Linked DNA regions of Homo sapiens: regions 1, 3 and 4 are each linked to region 2. Evidence: promoter capture Hi-C in 16 types of primary human blood cells and fetal thymus (Javierre and others, 2016). All regions are on one chromosome and are shown on one strand. Each heading gives the region's core, a stretch centred on a gene start or on the middle of the fragment in contact. The rest is flanking DNA. Distances are from core to core; before and after follow the strand shown.

Region 1 (3,568 bases), core at 229-2,728, 350 kb after region 2:
ATACCTTGTGTATGCTTTTTGAAAACAAAACTACCTATGAAAATCAGTTTAGAGTTATTTATAACGTTTTGGCTCTCACTTTTCCCTCAGTAACCTTACTCAGAGGATGACTTTTGACACAGCTTACTGTAATCACACACATGTTAAAATGAGAACACTAGCTCAATAAGCTTAAGGCTTCTTTAGAATCTTAACATTTATAAAACTCTCTGTAAATAGTAACTATAAAATGTATTTTTTTTCTGAATTCTTTTATCTTGGGTGAAATAGTGTAACTACTTCATCTTTTCCTAAAAATAATGGTTTATAGATAGTAATACAAATAATACACATTTACAAAGCTAATTTTGTTTTCTGCAAGCTAATGCCCACTAATGAGAAACTAGGTTTACTGTCATTGTTATCATCCATATGATCTTGTCGGTGATTTTCCTAAAGATTGAGTTTATCAAATTTTTTGGGAAAAAATAATCCCCTTTTACATCTTACCTATCAACATAATGATCTTGTTTTATGTAATCTTGTTGTTTTCAACCATTGTTTTCTTGAAAAGGAGTATTTGAAAATGATTGTATATTAATATGTAAAATATAAGATTTTCCTATCAAAAAATTAAAAACATATGCATCACTTCATAGTGTTAGTTATTTGGAATTGAGAGGTGGATGAGGAGAGGACTGAGAAAGGCAGGTTGTTGAAGTGAGCTTCCAGTAATTTCACATCAGGGCCAGTGTTACAAACTATATCGCAAAAGTCTGGATAGATTATCTAATTTTTTTTTTGAGATGGAGTTTTGCTCTTGTTGCCCAGGCTGGAGTGCACTGGCGCAATCTCGGCTCACTGCAACCTCTGCCTCCTGGGTTCAAGCGATTCTCCTGCCTCAGCCTCCCGAGTAGCTGGGATTACAGGTGTGCGCCACCACACCTGGCTAATTTTTGTACTTTTAGTAGAGACGGGGTTTCACCATGTTGGCCAGGCTAGTCTCAAAACTCCTGACCTCAGGTGATATGCCCGCCTCGGTCTCCCAAAGTGCTTTGATTACAGGTGTGAGCCCCCGCACCCGGCCAGATTATCTAAAATTTTCAAATGTGTAAGGCAAGGAGAAAAAATAATTTTATCGTTAAATTAACAAGGCAAAAAATCAAGCTACTGTCTGCTAAATACCAAGTATAAAATAATTTTAAAGTCAAATCTATCTACTACTATGATAAGGTCAATTACATAGTTATATACACACAAATATATTAAATGTTAAAATAAAAGTTAAATTTCTAACGTATCATCATCTCTTTCCTAATTTTTTCCTAGTCTGACTGTACCAGTGTGTACCATTATGATTGCCTTTGGTGTGCTCAAAATAGCATTACTAAGTTAATAGTTTAAGAATTTTCATGCAGAGAAATACCTGAAATTAAATGCCAATACTTAATGTCATCTATTTTCTTTTCTTTTTTTTTTTCTTTTATTTTTTGAGACAGAGTTTTGGTCTTGTTGTCCAGGCTGGAGTGCAATGGCACGATCTCGGCTCACCACCACCTCTGAGTCCCAGTTTCAAGTGATTCTCCTGCCTCAGCCTCCTGAGTAGCTGGGATTACAGGCATGCACCACCACGCCCAGCTAATTTTGTATTTTTAGTAGAGCCAGGATTTCTCCATGTTGGTCTGGCTGTTCTCGAACTCCTGACCTCAGGTGATCCACGCGCCTTGGCCTCCCAAAGTGCTGGGATTACAAGCATGAGCCACTGCACCCAGCCAATGTCATCTATTTTCAATTCTCCATCTAGATTTTAGACTTGAAAAAAAAAAAAAAAAGCCAAAGGAATATATGGGAAAGTGATCTGGTCTGAAAATTCAGGAAGCTAGACCAACTCCTAGAAAGGTGGTCTAGCTTCCTGAATTTCCAGTCCAGATCACTTTCCCTGTATATTTGATATTAATCAACAGAAAAATGAGGAAGGAGGCAATGATGTCTTAGAAATCATGCAGACAATGTGACTTTGACTAAGCCCCAGGTGTTTTTCTTCTCTTCAGTCAATTAGAATAACAAGAGACACTAAGATTTTATAAAACAGTGCATTTTCATGTGTTATAAAATCAATCGTTAATTGTATTAGTTCGTTTTCACACTGCTGATAAAGACACACCCGAAACTGGGTAATTTACAAGAAAAGAGGTTTAATTGACTCACAGTTCCACATGGCTGTAGAGCCCTCACAATTATGGTGGAAGGTGAATGAGGAGCAAAGTCATGTCTCACATGGTGGCAGGCAAGACAGCATGACAGCCAAGTGAAAGGAGAAACCCCTTATAAAACCATTAGATCTGGTGACACTTATTCACTACCATGAGAACAGTATGGGGAAAACTGCCCCCATGATTCAATTATCTTCCACCAGGTGCCTCCCACAACACAGCGTAATTATGAGAGCCACAGTTCAAGAAGAGATTTAGACAAGGACACAGCCAAACCATATCATTACACCCTGGCCCCTCCCAAATCTCATGTCCTCACATTTCAAAACCAATCATGTCTTCCCAACATTCCCCCAAAGTCTTAACTCATTTCAGCATTAATTAAAAAATCCACAGTCCAAAAGCTCATCTGAGACAAGTCAAGTCCCTTCTGCCTATGAGTCTTTAAAGTCAAAAGCACATTAGTTACTTCCTAGATACAATGGAACTATAGGCATTGGATAAACACACCCATTTTAAATGGGAGAAATTGGTCAAAACAAAGGAGCTAAAGGCCCCATGCAAGTTCAAAATCCAACAGGCCAGTCGAACATTAAAGCTTTGAAATGATCTCCTTTAATTCCATGTCTCACATCCAGGTCACTCTGATGCAAGAGGTGGGTTTCCATAGTCTTGGGCAGCTCCACCCCTATGGCTTTGCAGGGTACAGCCCTCCTCCTGGCTGCTTTCATGGGTTGGTGTTGTGTCTGTGGCTCTTGCAGGCACGCAGTGAAAGGTGTTGGTAGATTTACCATTCTGGTGTGTGGAGGACGGTGGCCCTTTTCTTACAGCTCCACTAGGTAGTGCCTCACTGGGGACACTGTGGGGTCTCGCACCCCACATTTCCCTTCATGCTGCACTAGCGGAGGTTCTCCGTGAAGGTCCTGTCCCTCCAGCACATCTCTGCTTGGACATCCAGGCATTTCCATAAATTCTCTAAAACTAGGCAGAGGTTCCCAAACCTCAATTCTTGACTTCTGTGCAAGTGAAGGCCTAACTCCATGTGTAAGCCACCAAGACTTTGGGCTTGCATCCTCTGAAGCAATGGCCTGAGCTCCATGTTGGCCTCTTTTAGGCACAGGTGGGATGCAGGGCACCAAGTCCCAAGACTGCACAAAGCAGCAAGGCCCTGAGCCCAGCCCATGAAACCATTTTTTCCTCCTAGGCCTCCTGGCTTGTGATTGGAGGGGCTGCCATGAAGACCTCTGACATGCCCTAGAGACATTTTTCCTATTGTCTTGGCGATTAACATTTGGCTCCTCATTACTTTTGCAAATTTCTGCAGCCAGCTTGAATTTCTCCCCAGAAAATGGGTTTTTCTCTTCTATTGCGTCAAC
Region 2 (3,163 bases), core at 262-2,761:
ACAACAGGTGCTGGAGAGGATGTGGAAAAATAGGAACACTTTTACACTGTTGGTGGGACTGTAAACTAGTTCAACCATTGTGGAAGTCAGTGTGGCGATTCCACAGGGATCTAGAACTAGAAATACCATTTGACCCAGCCATCCCTTTACTGGGTATATACCCAAAGGACTATAAATCATGCTGCTATAAAGACACATGCACACGTATGTTTATTGTGGCATTATTCACAATAGCAAAGACTTGGAACCAACCCAAATGTCCAACAATGATAGACTGGATTAAGAAAATGTGGCACATATACACCATGGAATATTATGCAGCCATAAAAAATGATGAGTTCATGTCCTTTGTAGGGACATGGATGAAATTGGAAATCATCATTCTCAGTAAACTATCACAAGAACAAAAAACCAAACACCGCATATTCTCACTCATAGGTGGGAACTGAACAATGAGAACACATGGACACAGGAAGGGGAACATCACACTCTGGAGCCTGTTGTGGGGTGGGGGGAGGGGGGAGGGATAGCATTGGGAGGTATACCTAATGCTAGATGACGAGTTAGTGGGTGCAGCCCACCAGCATGTCACATGTATACATATGTAACTAACCTGCACATTGTGCACATGTACCCTAAAACTTAAAGTATAATAATAATAAATAAATAAATTAAAGAAAAAAAAAGACTGCAGATTATTCATATATGTTATAAGGTTTAGAAAGCACTGATCTATTCCAGTTTCTTCCTTTTTCCAGTGAGGAGAATGAAACCAAAGACGCAATATGACCTGCTGGAATACGAGCTGCTTAAGTAGCCCAGGACTCCAACTCATAGGCTTTTTTAGCTTCTGTGTATAAGACAGTTGGCCTGAAAGTAGTGTGCAGTATGGACTGAAGGGTTAAGTTTTTGGGAGTGGGAAGACAGTTAAAAGTCTATGATAGCAACCTAAGATATATTACATTATAAGAGTTAGTACCAGGACTACATAGAAAGGTGGAAAAATGCAATCACTTTAAACAGACCAATAAGATAATTCAAGATAAGAGATGACAACACGTTGAGAACACAGAGGCTCTCAGATCTGATTGTGGGGAGAAGGTTCATAGTCTGGAGGATTAATTTGGAATCAAGAGGAAGCAGAGAAGATTTCAGAGTGCATTTAGAAATTTCCGGAGTTTTCTCACACAAATAACTTACTCTGTCTTTCCTTACTCTCTCTTTGATTACCAGAAGCTGAAAGAAAGGAATTAACCTTTTTCTGGCTTGAAAACATCTAGAGAACATACTCTCCTTCAGTGTCTCTACACAGTCTCAGGATTCAAACTACATACCACCAATAAGAGAAAGATTCAGCATGCACACTATTGGTTGATTTCCCTTTTGGTATTTCTGCCTGTCACATAGCAATAAATCAAGATTTTTCTAAGACCTGAGTACCCAGCTGCTAGTCAGAAAAGGGCCCAGACTCACCAGCCATAGCTAACAGCCTCTGTCTCTTTGTACAGCACTGGAAAGTGCCTCAGACTCAGAGATAAAATACACTAGGTACTTCCTTATTGCAGGGAGTGGGGACAAGTGATTACAGATTATGGGAAGTTGCTTCTGGGAACCTATAGTTTCATCATTGGGAAGTGCCCTGTAGTAAGCAAATTGGCTTTCTATTCTTGAACTCTAGATTCTTCCCTGGGGAAAAAAAATGCAAATGACAAAACATTGTTTTGTGGGTTGAAACCTCAGCCTGGTTTTCTTTTTCCTTTTCTCTCTCCATAGCCCCACATCTTCTTTTATTCATCCCTCTCTTCTGATCTGTCAGTTTTTCTACCTCTGCTCGTCTAAAAACACATGTCCTGAATGAGTAAAATCTAACTAGTTTCCTTGCATCTTCCCATAAGAATTAACCAAATATTTTGTATATCTTGGGTTTCTTTATTTTTCATTTCAATTTTTATTTGAGTTTCAGGGGTACATATGCAGGTTTGTTACAAGAGTATATTAGGTGATGCAGAGGTTTGTAGTACAATTTAACCTATTACCTAGGTAGTGAGAATAGCACCCAGTACATAGTTTTTCGGCTCTTGCCTTCTTCCTTCATTCCTCCCTCTGGTATTTCCCTGTGTCTGTTATTCCCGTCTTTATGTCCATGTGTACACAATATTTAGCTAGAACTTACAAGTGAGATTATGTGATATTTGGTTTTCTGTTTCTGCATTAATTTGCTTAGAATAATGGCCTCCAGTTGCATCCATGTTGCTGCAAAGGGCAGGGTTTCATTTTTATGGCTGTGTAACATTCCATAGTAGCAGTGTACCACATTTTTTTAAATCCAATCCACCATTGATGGACACCTGGGTTGATTCTATTATTTTGGCTACAGTGAATAGTGCTGCGACAAACATTTGAAAGCACATGTCTTTTTGATAGAACAGTACATTTTCCTTTGAGGATTCAGTCAGTAATGGGATGCTTGGACAAATGATAGTTCTTTTTTTAGTTATTTGGTAAATCTCCAAACTGCTTTTCAAAAAGATGGATGCATCACATTACTGGACTTCAAGCTATGCTAGAAGTCTACAGTAACCACAACAGCAAGGTATTCGTACAAAAAAAACAGACACAAAGCCCAATGGAACAGAATAGAGAACCCCAAAATAAAGCCACACACCTATAACCAACTGATACTCAACAAAGTCAACAACAACAGCAAAAAGAAACAAGGAAAGGATTGTTTATTCAATAAATGTATTTCTTGTTTAAACTGTGCTGAGGAATCATGATGGAGTCTTCTCCTCCCCATCTCCCTGTCATCTTACGCTTTGATTGGAGACAGTTCTGAAGGAATCCTCTTATCTACTTCCTGGAATGCTGTTCTTCAACTGACTAAAACTGCTTTAACAGTTAATTTTTACTTAGGGTGGCAATTCACTTCTCCTTTTTGATATTCTCTGAGCAAAGACTGATCACAGATGTAGTCTCAGGTTGTAGTAGAGTATGCATGATAACACAGAAGAGATATGCCCAGAGAAACAGTTAATAAAAGGTAAAAAAAAAAAAAAAGAGAGAGAGAGAGAGACTGTAATGTGTTCAACTATGAAGGTGTTTAAGAAGTCAGAAATTAACTCTCATTTAATCTGTTAAATATTAGAAAAAAACATATTTGCAA
Region 3 (3,454 bases), core at 251-2,750, 410 kb before region 2:
ATGAAATGGATGTCATGTTTGAACACATGCCATACCATCATTTTTAGGTAGCAGCCTTTCAGGATATAGACAAATATATTTGGGATGGTTTCTGGGTGTATAATCCATTGGAAAAGCTATTTTAATATAAAAATTCACTGTCAAAATATTAATAAACAACTAGTCTTTTTTCAAATCTCTTGTGCAATAAACATAGATTCAAGACAAGTGATTTTTGTCGTGTCATCTTATTTGTAAGACATGTCTCTCTAGTTGGATAGTGATTGGCTTGTTGGTTTGAACGTCAGGAGGTTAAAATCTTAATTTAAATATGCATTAGTATTAAAATATGTTCAAGAGAATGTCACATCAACCTCAACCTCAAAGTACCAATTATGTTGTTTGGGTTCCACATTTGACACTGTTCTGACTAAACTGATATCCCCCGTTCAGAATTTCTAAAAATGCCTCAGATCTCAGTTTCATAATACATTCTATGTAAAGTAGAAACATTAAGAAAAACTGAATTATAGAAACATAATTTCATAGTTTCAAGGACATAGAAGTCAAAGCATACTGCTTGAAGCTAATGAACAATTATAAAGATGTAGAAGCCAGCACATTATTAGCATTAGGTTAGAAGAAATAGACAATTCTGTAACCACTCAACAGGATGGATTCAAAACAAAGAAATTGTTAAGTTTGGAGTTTAATTATAAACACTAATTTGTAACTTGGATGAGAACAGTAACTGTTTTTAATCCTTAGCCAGTGTTTTATTTTTTTCCCTGAAGCCGCTTATTGAAGAAAATAAATGACGCAGGAAAAGCAAGGGGAATAACTAATAACCAACATTTTATGCATATATATGTGTAGAACTTAAGTGAGAAAAAAACTGATGGCACCATAGTCAATTTAAATAAGATAAAACGTATCAATCAAGCAGTCAACCATAAATCTCTAAGAAACAAGAAGCCCATGTACAAATTCACGGAAACATGGTAATTGATCTTTGTTGATAACGTTGAAGCACTTTGTGATTCAGAAAAAAAAACAAATTTGGAAGTTATCGTATACATAATATGGTTTTACACATAATATTATGTATATTTTATTACATTTTATATTTTTAGATATTATTCATACCCAATTTGTGGCAATCCTGTGAATCCGATCATTGGTAAGTTAGAATAGTTCTTTCCAGGTAATTATTTTTAATTTACTATTTTCAAATAATTTTAAACTTTGGTAAAGTGGTTTGCAGAGATAGTTGCTCTGACAGGCTGTAAATCGGTTTAGTAGCTACCTAACAGCATGGAATATAAGAATGTGCTCGGCGTGTTAACTGTATACATCAATTTCTTAAAAGCTAAAATATCTATATAAAAATAAGGTGCTTTAGGAAAAGAAGGCCATTGGAAGACCCATGAAAATGGTAATTGACTTTCTGAACCAGAAAAGTAAAGCGATAACATAAAGGAAAGAAACAAGATGACAAAAGGTATCATAAAGTATTACACTTGAGTGCTCTCAGTTACATAGATGGCGGTTCCTGAATCATCCTGATTTTGTGAAACAAGTGGAAAATGGATAAAAAAAAGACTGCCTCTCTGTAGACTGATAAGATCCCAACTGTTAAGAAGTGAAAAGTTTCCCAACTTATGCAAATGAAGAATTGCAACAAGTTGGCCAGAAAGGTGATGGTATCTATCAGTCAGGGATCTTTCTGCTCTAAGTGATTGACAATTCAACTTAAATTGGATTAATAAAACTGAGGTATTATTGGCTATAATGTAAACAAGTAGTTCAGTTTAATTAGAAACTAAAATTCTAATGATTAGAATTTCTCTTTACACTGCCCCTTGCCCTCTGGGCTAGCTCAGCCCTTTGAATAGTGCCTCTCAACGGATGTACAAGAGCAGCAGCAAGCAGCAACCTTTACATTCTTCTACCACCCACTTCAGGGAGGCTGTTGTCTCACAGGCCTAACAATTGTTCTAAGGATCACACCTCTGGGGCTGGACTAAATTACTGGTCAATATCTGTAGCAATCCTGATGGCCAGGAAAATATAATGTGCCTATTGGCTGAAGCCTGCATACATCCATTGATTAGTGAACTCATCCAATAAATAATCAACGTGTTAGAACCTTTCTTTGACCCCAATCACTGTGGCCAAGAGTGTGAGCTGTGCGAATAAACCCTAGGCAGTACCATCAAAATTGCATAACCAATAATGCGAAACTAGTAGTTTCCCAAAAGCAGATGGGATATTATTTAAAGGAAGGAAAATAATAAATGCTGAAAAGAAAGCAACTCCAGGGAAAAATTCCCAGCTGTTTTCTTGATTCTATACATATATAGAGTGGATAAGTTCAAGGAGGCTGAACAAAGAGAGAGAATGCATTTCAATATTCCTAATGCAGGTTCAGCAAAAAGGGATATATGTAAGGAGCTATTAAGTTCATCAATAAAGTGATCTAGTCTTATAAACAAGGTCATATCAAGTTTTTTGAGTCTGTTCACTGTTAGAGCACTCGTTTATGTATTCTGTAGTACTTAAGGTTGAGGTAGTTTTATATTTAAGTTATATGTAAAGAACTTCTACTCATTCTTTAAGAGTTGGCCAAGTATTCTTTCTGTGAATACTTAACTGAAACCCCTTATATCAGTCACAAGTATACTTCATGCATATACTAATTTGTACACTTTTCAGAGTCTGTTGTAATTATGTTTGTGTTTCTGTCTTCCCTACTTAGCTTTGAGCTGTTAGATGACATGGTTTATTCATTTTATCTAGGATATGGCACAACTGGGTATAATGCTCAACTAATATTTGGTTAAAAAATAAATATATAATTTAACATTTTTCTTTCTTTACCCATTCATCAAGTAAAATCTCAACAATTTTATGTAGAAAAAACTCAGATGATTTAATACATGTAAATCTGTGACAATAACAGCTTGTATTGAATACTTATTAGGTATCAATGATATTCTTTGCATATGTTATTCATTACGTTCTTACATTAAACTTGTTTGGTAGATGTTATTCTTTCCTTTACATAGATATAAGCCTACGGCTCAATAAATTAACATATACTGCATGTCAGAAATTGGTGTAACTTGGATTTAGCTTATGCACTGTCTTGTTTAAGTGCCCATACATTTTCTATAGCTCCTAAAATTTTAACTCTTTTGAAACTGTGTAAGGAGGGGGAAAAATGCACAATGAATAAAAGCTTTCACTCTGACACCAGTAAGAAAGGTGAAAAACTCACCTGAATGAAGAATCAGATGTGAAACTGGAAGCTCATCTTATCTATAAAGGGAGCTTAAAATACTCAACTAATATAGAAAGGGCATTTGTAGCTTGTTATTACAGATTTATGTTTCTTCTTTTTGTGTAGCTGTTAAGTACTCATGTTCACATTGTGATGTCACTCAGGAGAGTTGATCTATTACTTCAAGTATAA
Region 4 (3,196 bases), core at 232-2,731, 360 kb before region 2:
GAGGTTTTGGCTAGTTATGACTAACACCACTATAAAGATTTGCATATAAGATAGTGTGTGAATAAAAGTGTTTCTTTCTCTTGGGTAAATACTTAGAGAAGTTGGATTGCTCAATTGTAGTTCAGGTATATGTTTAACTTTGTAAGAAACTGCCTTACTAGGCATGTACCACCAGAGCCTTTTTGCCTGGTCCCAGTCGTTTTGGCGAGCACCCAGTGGAGGTTCATGAAGAAGAGCTTGTGAATGTGAGTAAAGTACCCCTGTGTCTGTGGCTCCCAGAGAGCCACATGATGATGTGACATCATGCTCTTAATGAGCCTCTTCCTGCCCTTTAGGAATCTGGGGAACATGGAGCTGAATCCTTACTGGTTTGTTGCCCAACTGGCATGTCTTTCTCTAGTGTTCTGCCAAGTAATCCTGGGTTCATGTCCTGTCTCATCCAGGGAACTCCTATCTCATCAGATTTTAGTCTATTTGATTGTCATGTAACATCAGTTTTCTGATGGGTTCATGAAAACTTGTGAAATTTTTTGTTTACCTGTGGTCAGAATAAAAGGAATGCCTCTTCCAGTTTCCTCCATCCTCCATGGGAGTTTAGCTGTGCTGAGGTTTTTAATGAGACCACATTACAATTTCTGATGCTCTCAGGCACAATTGCCTTTAAATAAAGTCTTGAGGTAAATGAGCTACTCAGTGAAGGTGAACTTTGGCAGAAACGTCTGAAATTTTTAAATGCAAATTTATCTCTTCCATTTTAACTATTGTGGAGTCCTGAAGAAATATCCTCTGACGTTAACTTTGAGCTTTGTAAAATAATATAAAATGATAAGGAAAGAAGAATTGCTACTATGATCATTGTATATTCAAATCATGGACAGAGCTGGATATTAAAATGAATACGTTTGTACTAATTAACCAGTAGGCTTTTTTCACAAAGCTAGAGAGGAAAACCCATCCTTTTACTGAACTAAATTTGTTGCCTTTTCCTCAAGTTTTCAGTTGCATATGAAAGCTTACTTTTCGTTTCCTTCTATTATTGTTTACCAGATTAGGCATCCATGCTTTGCTGGTGAACTTACACATATTCCTTAAGACACAAACTATTTTTTTTAATCTTACCTTTTTCCTTAACAGAAGCATAGTGGCAGATGTTGTGAGTTATCTGGTATGGTTTGAACATTTGTCTCCACCAAATCTCACATTAAAATTTGTTCCCCAAAGTTGGAGATGGGTCCTGGTGAAAGGTGTTTGGGTCGTGGGGGTGGATCCCCACTTTTCCTCTCTCTTGCCATGTGCTCTTTACACACTGGCTGTCCTTCACCTTGTGCCATGAACAGAAGCAGTCGGAGACCCTCATCAGAAGCAGGTGCTGGTGCCGTGGTTCCTGTATAGTCAGCAGAATCATGAGCCAAATAAACCTCTTTTCGTTATAAATTACCCAGATTTAGGCTTTCTTGCATAGCAACATAAACAGAGGAAGGGATGATCTATGCTTTATTCTCTCTGCCTTTCTTTCTTGATAGGAGAATTCACAATTTTACTTAGTGTTTAATTTTCTCTAAATACTCCAAGACACCTCTTGGATGCAGATCAATCTCTCTAATTGGGAATATGAGGGTCCCCACTATCTATTTCCATCTCAGCCCTCCAATCTCGTTGCTCATCATTCCCTGACTCAAATACCAAAAGGCTAGTGGTACCCTTTCCAAACCATGCTGTTTCTCTTTTTAATGTCTTGCCTCATAACACATGCATTTTCTGCAAAGTCTACTCCTTACCCATTATTAAACATATTTTAAATTTCAGATCTGAAGGCACCTCCTCCAGGAAGACTTGCCTGATTCTCCATGGGCTGTTATGTGCACCTTGAATATACCCTCTTTATCATCCTTGTTGTAACACACATTATGGATTAATCATCTTTTTTTTTCTATCTCTTTCTTTGTTTACTAAGCTTCTTGAATAAAAGGATTGTCTCATTCACCATTATGTTTTTTGCACAGTGCCTGACACGTTCAATATATTTTTCACTTTTGATGTTTCACTTAAAGGCTAGTGCTTTTCCTGAGTGACAAGTCAATGAATTGAGAGATTTAAAAAAAGAAGCCACAGGATGAGAGAAAATATTTGCAAAACACATACCTGAAAAAGGACTATTATCCAAAATGTACAAAGAAGTCTTAAAATTCAACAATAGTAAGCAAACAACCCAATAAATAAATGGGCAAAAGATCTGAAGAGACATCTCATCAAAGAAGATAAGCAGATGGCAAGCAAAACAAAGATAAATAGATGTTCCACATTATATGCCATTAGGAAACTGAAAATTCAAACAACGAGACACCTCTACACACCTATTAAAATGACTTAAATTCAGAACACTGACAACACCAAATACTGACAAGAAGGAAGCGCGAAAGGAAATTCTACTCATTGCTGGTGATTGCAAAATAGTACAGCTGCTTTGGAAGACAGTTTGGCAGTTTCTTACAAAGCTAAACAGAGTTTTACCACATGATCCAGCAATTCACTCTGTGATATTTACCCAAATGACTTAAAATTTATGCCCACACAGTGACCTGCATATGAACATTTATAGCAGCTGTATTTATAATTGCCAAAAAAATGGAAGCAACCAAGCTGTCTTTCAATAAGTGAATGAATAAATAGCCTGTTATATATACAGGCAATGGACTATTATTTAGCACTAAAGAGAAAGGAGTTATCAAGCCATAGAAGGACATAGATAAAACGTAAGTGTCTATTACCAAGTGAAAGAAGGCAATGTGAAAGCTCTACATACTATATGATTGTAACTATGTGATATTCTGGGAAAGAGAAAACTGTATAGAGACAGTAAAAAAATAAAATAAAAAAGTGATTGCCTGGTGTGTGGGGGTACAGGGAGAGAAGGAGGCAGAAATAAATAGGTGGAACACAGAGCATTAGAGGGAGAGTGAAATTATTCTCTGTGGTATTATAAGGGTGGATACATGTCATTATACATTTGTCAAAACCCATAGAATGTACATCACTAGTGACTTCTAATGAAAACTATAGAACTTATTTAATAAAATGTATCAATATTGCTTAATCACTTATAACAAATGCACCACAGTAATGCAATATATCAATAGTAGGGGAAACTGTGTGTATGTCGTGGGGTGGGAGGTTATAAAAATTTTGTGCTTTCTGC

Evidence for each region. The method cuts DNA at HindIII sites, captures the fragments that hold promoters and counts their contacts. A CHiCAGO score of 5 or more calls a contact.
Region 1: a fragment that was not itself captured here is called in contact with the fragment with the promoter of CASP5 in region 2 in 1 of 17 cell types (neutrophils); the score reaches 5.2 in neutrophils.
Region 3: a contact is called between a fragment that was not itself captured here and the fragment with the promoter of CASP5 in region 2, in 6 of 17 cell types (activated CD4 T cells, naive CD8 T cells, total CD8 T cells and 3 more). The highest score is 6.8, in activated CD4 T cells.
Region 4: a contact is called between a fragment that was not itself captured here and the fragment with the promoter of CASP5 in region 2, in 2 of 17 cell types (non-activated CD4 T cells and activated CD4 T cells). The highest score is 5.3, in non-activated CD4 T cells.

The regions. Positions count from the first base shown.
Region 1 is chr11:105,372,530-105,376,097 of GRCh38, forward strand. All of the region lies in intron 2 of LOC105369468 (a long non-coding RNA gene), which reads right to left. Among named protein-coding and RNA genes, the nearest start is that of CARD18, 230 kb to the left of the region's middle. The HindIII fragment of the contact is 2,620 bases long and covers 169-2,788 here.
Region 2 is chr11:105,021,657-105,024,819 of GRCh38, forward strand. It overlaps CASP5 (caspase 5), which reads right to left and starts at 1,512. Exons shown (of 10, transcript NM_004347.5): 1 at 1,474-1,512. The coding sequence starts at 1,480. The region is part of intron 1 of LOC124902742 (a long non-coding RNA gene); the gene reads left to right. The HindIII fragment of the contact is 8,276 bases long and covers 1-3,163 here.
Region 3 is chr11:104,610,562-104,614,015 of GRCh38, forward strand. No RefSeq gene overlaps it. Among named protein-coding and RNA genes, the nearest start is that of LINC02552, 3.0 kb to the left of the region's middle. The HindIII fragment of the contact is 3,436 bases long and covers 1-3,218 here.
Region 4 is chr11:104,663,374-104,666,569 of GRCh38, forward strand. No RefSeq gene overlaps it. Among named protein-coding and RNA genes, the nearest start is that of LINC02552, 56 kb to the left of the region's middle. The HindIII fragment of the contact is 942 bases long and covers 1,011-1,952 here.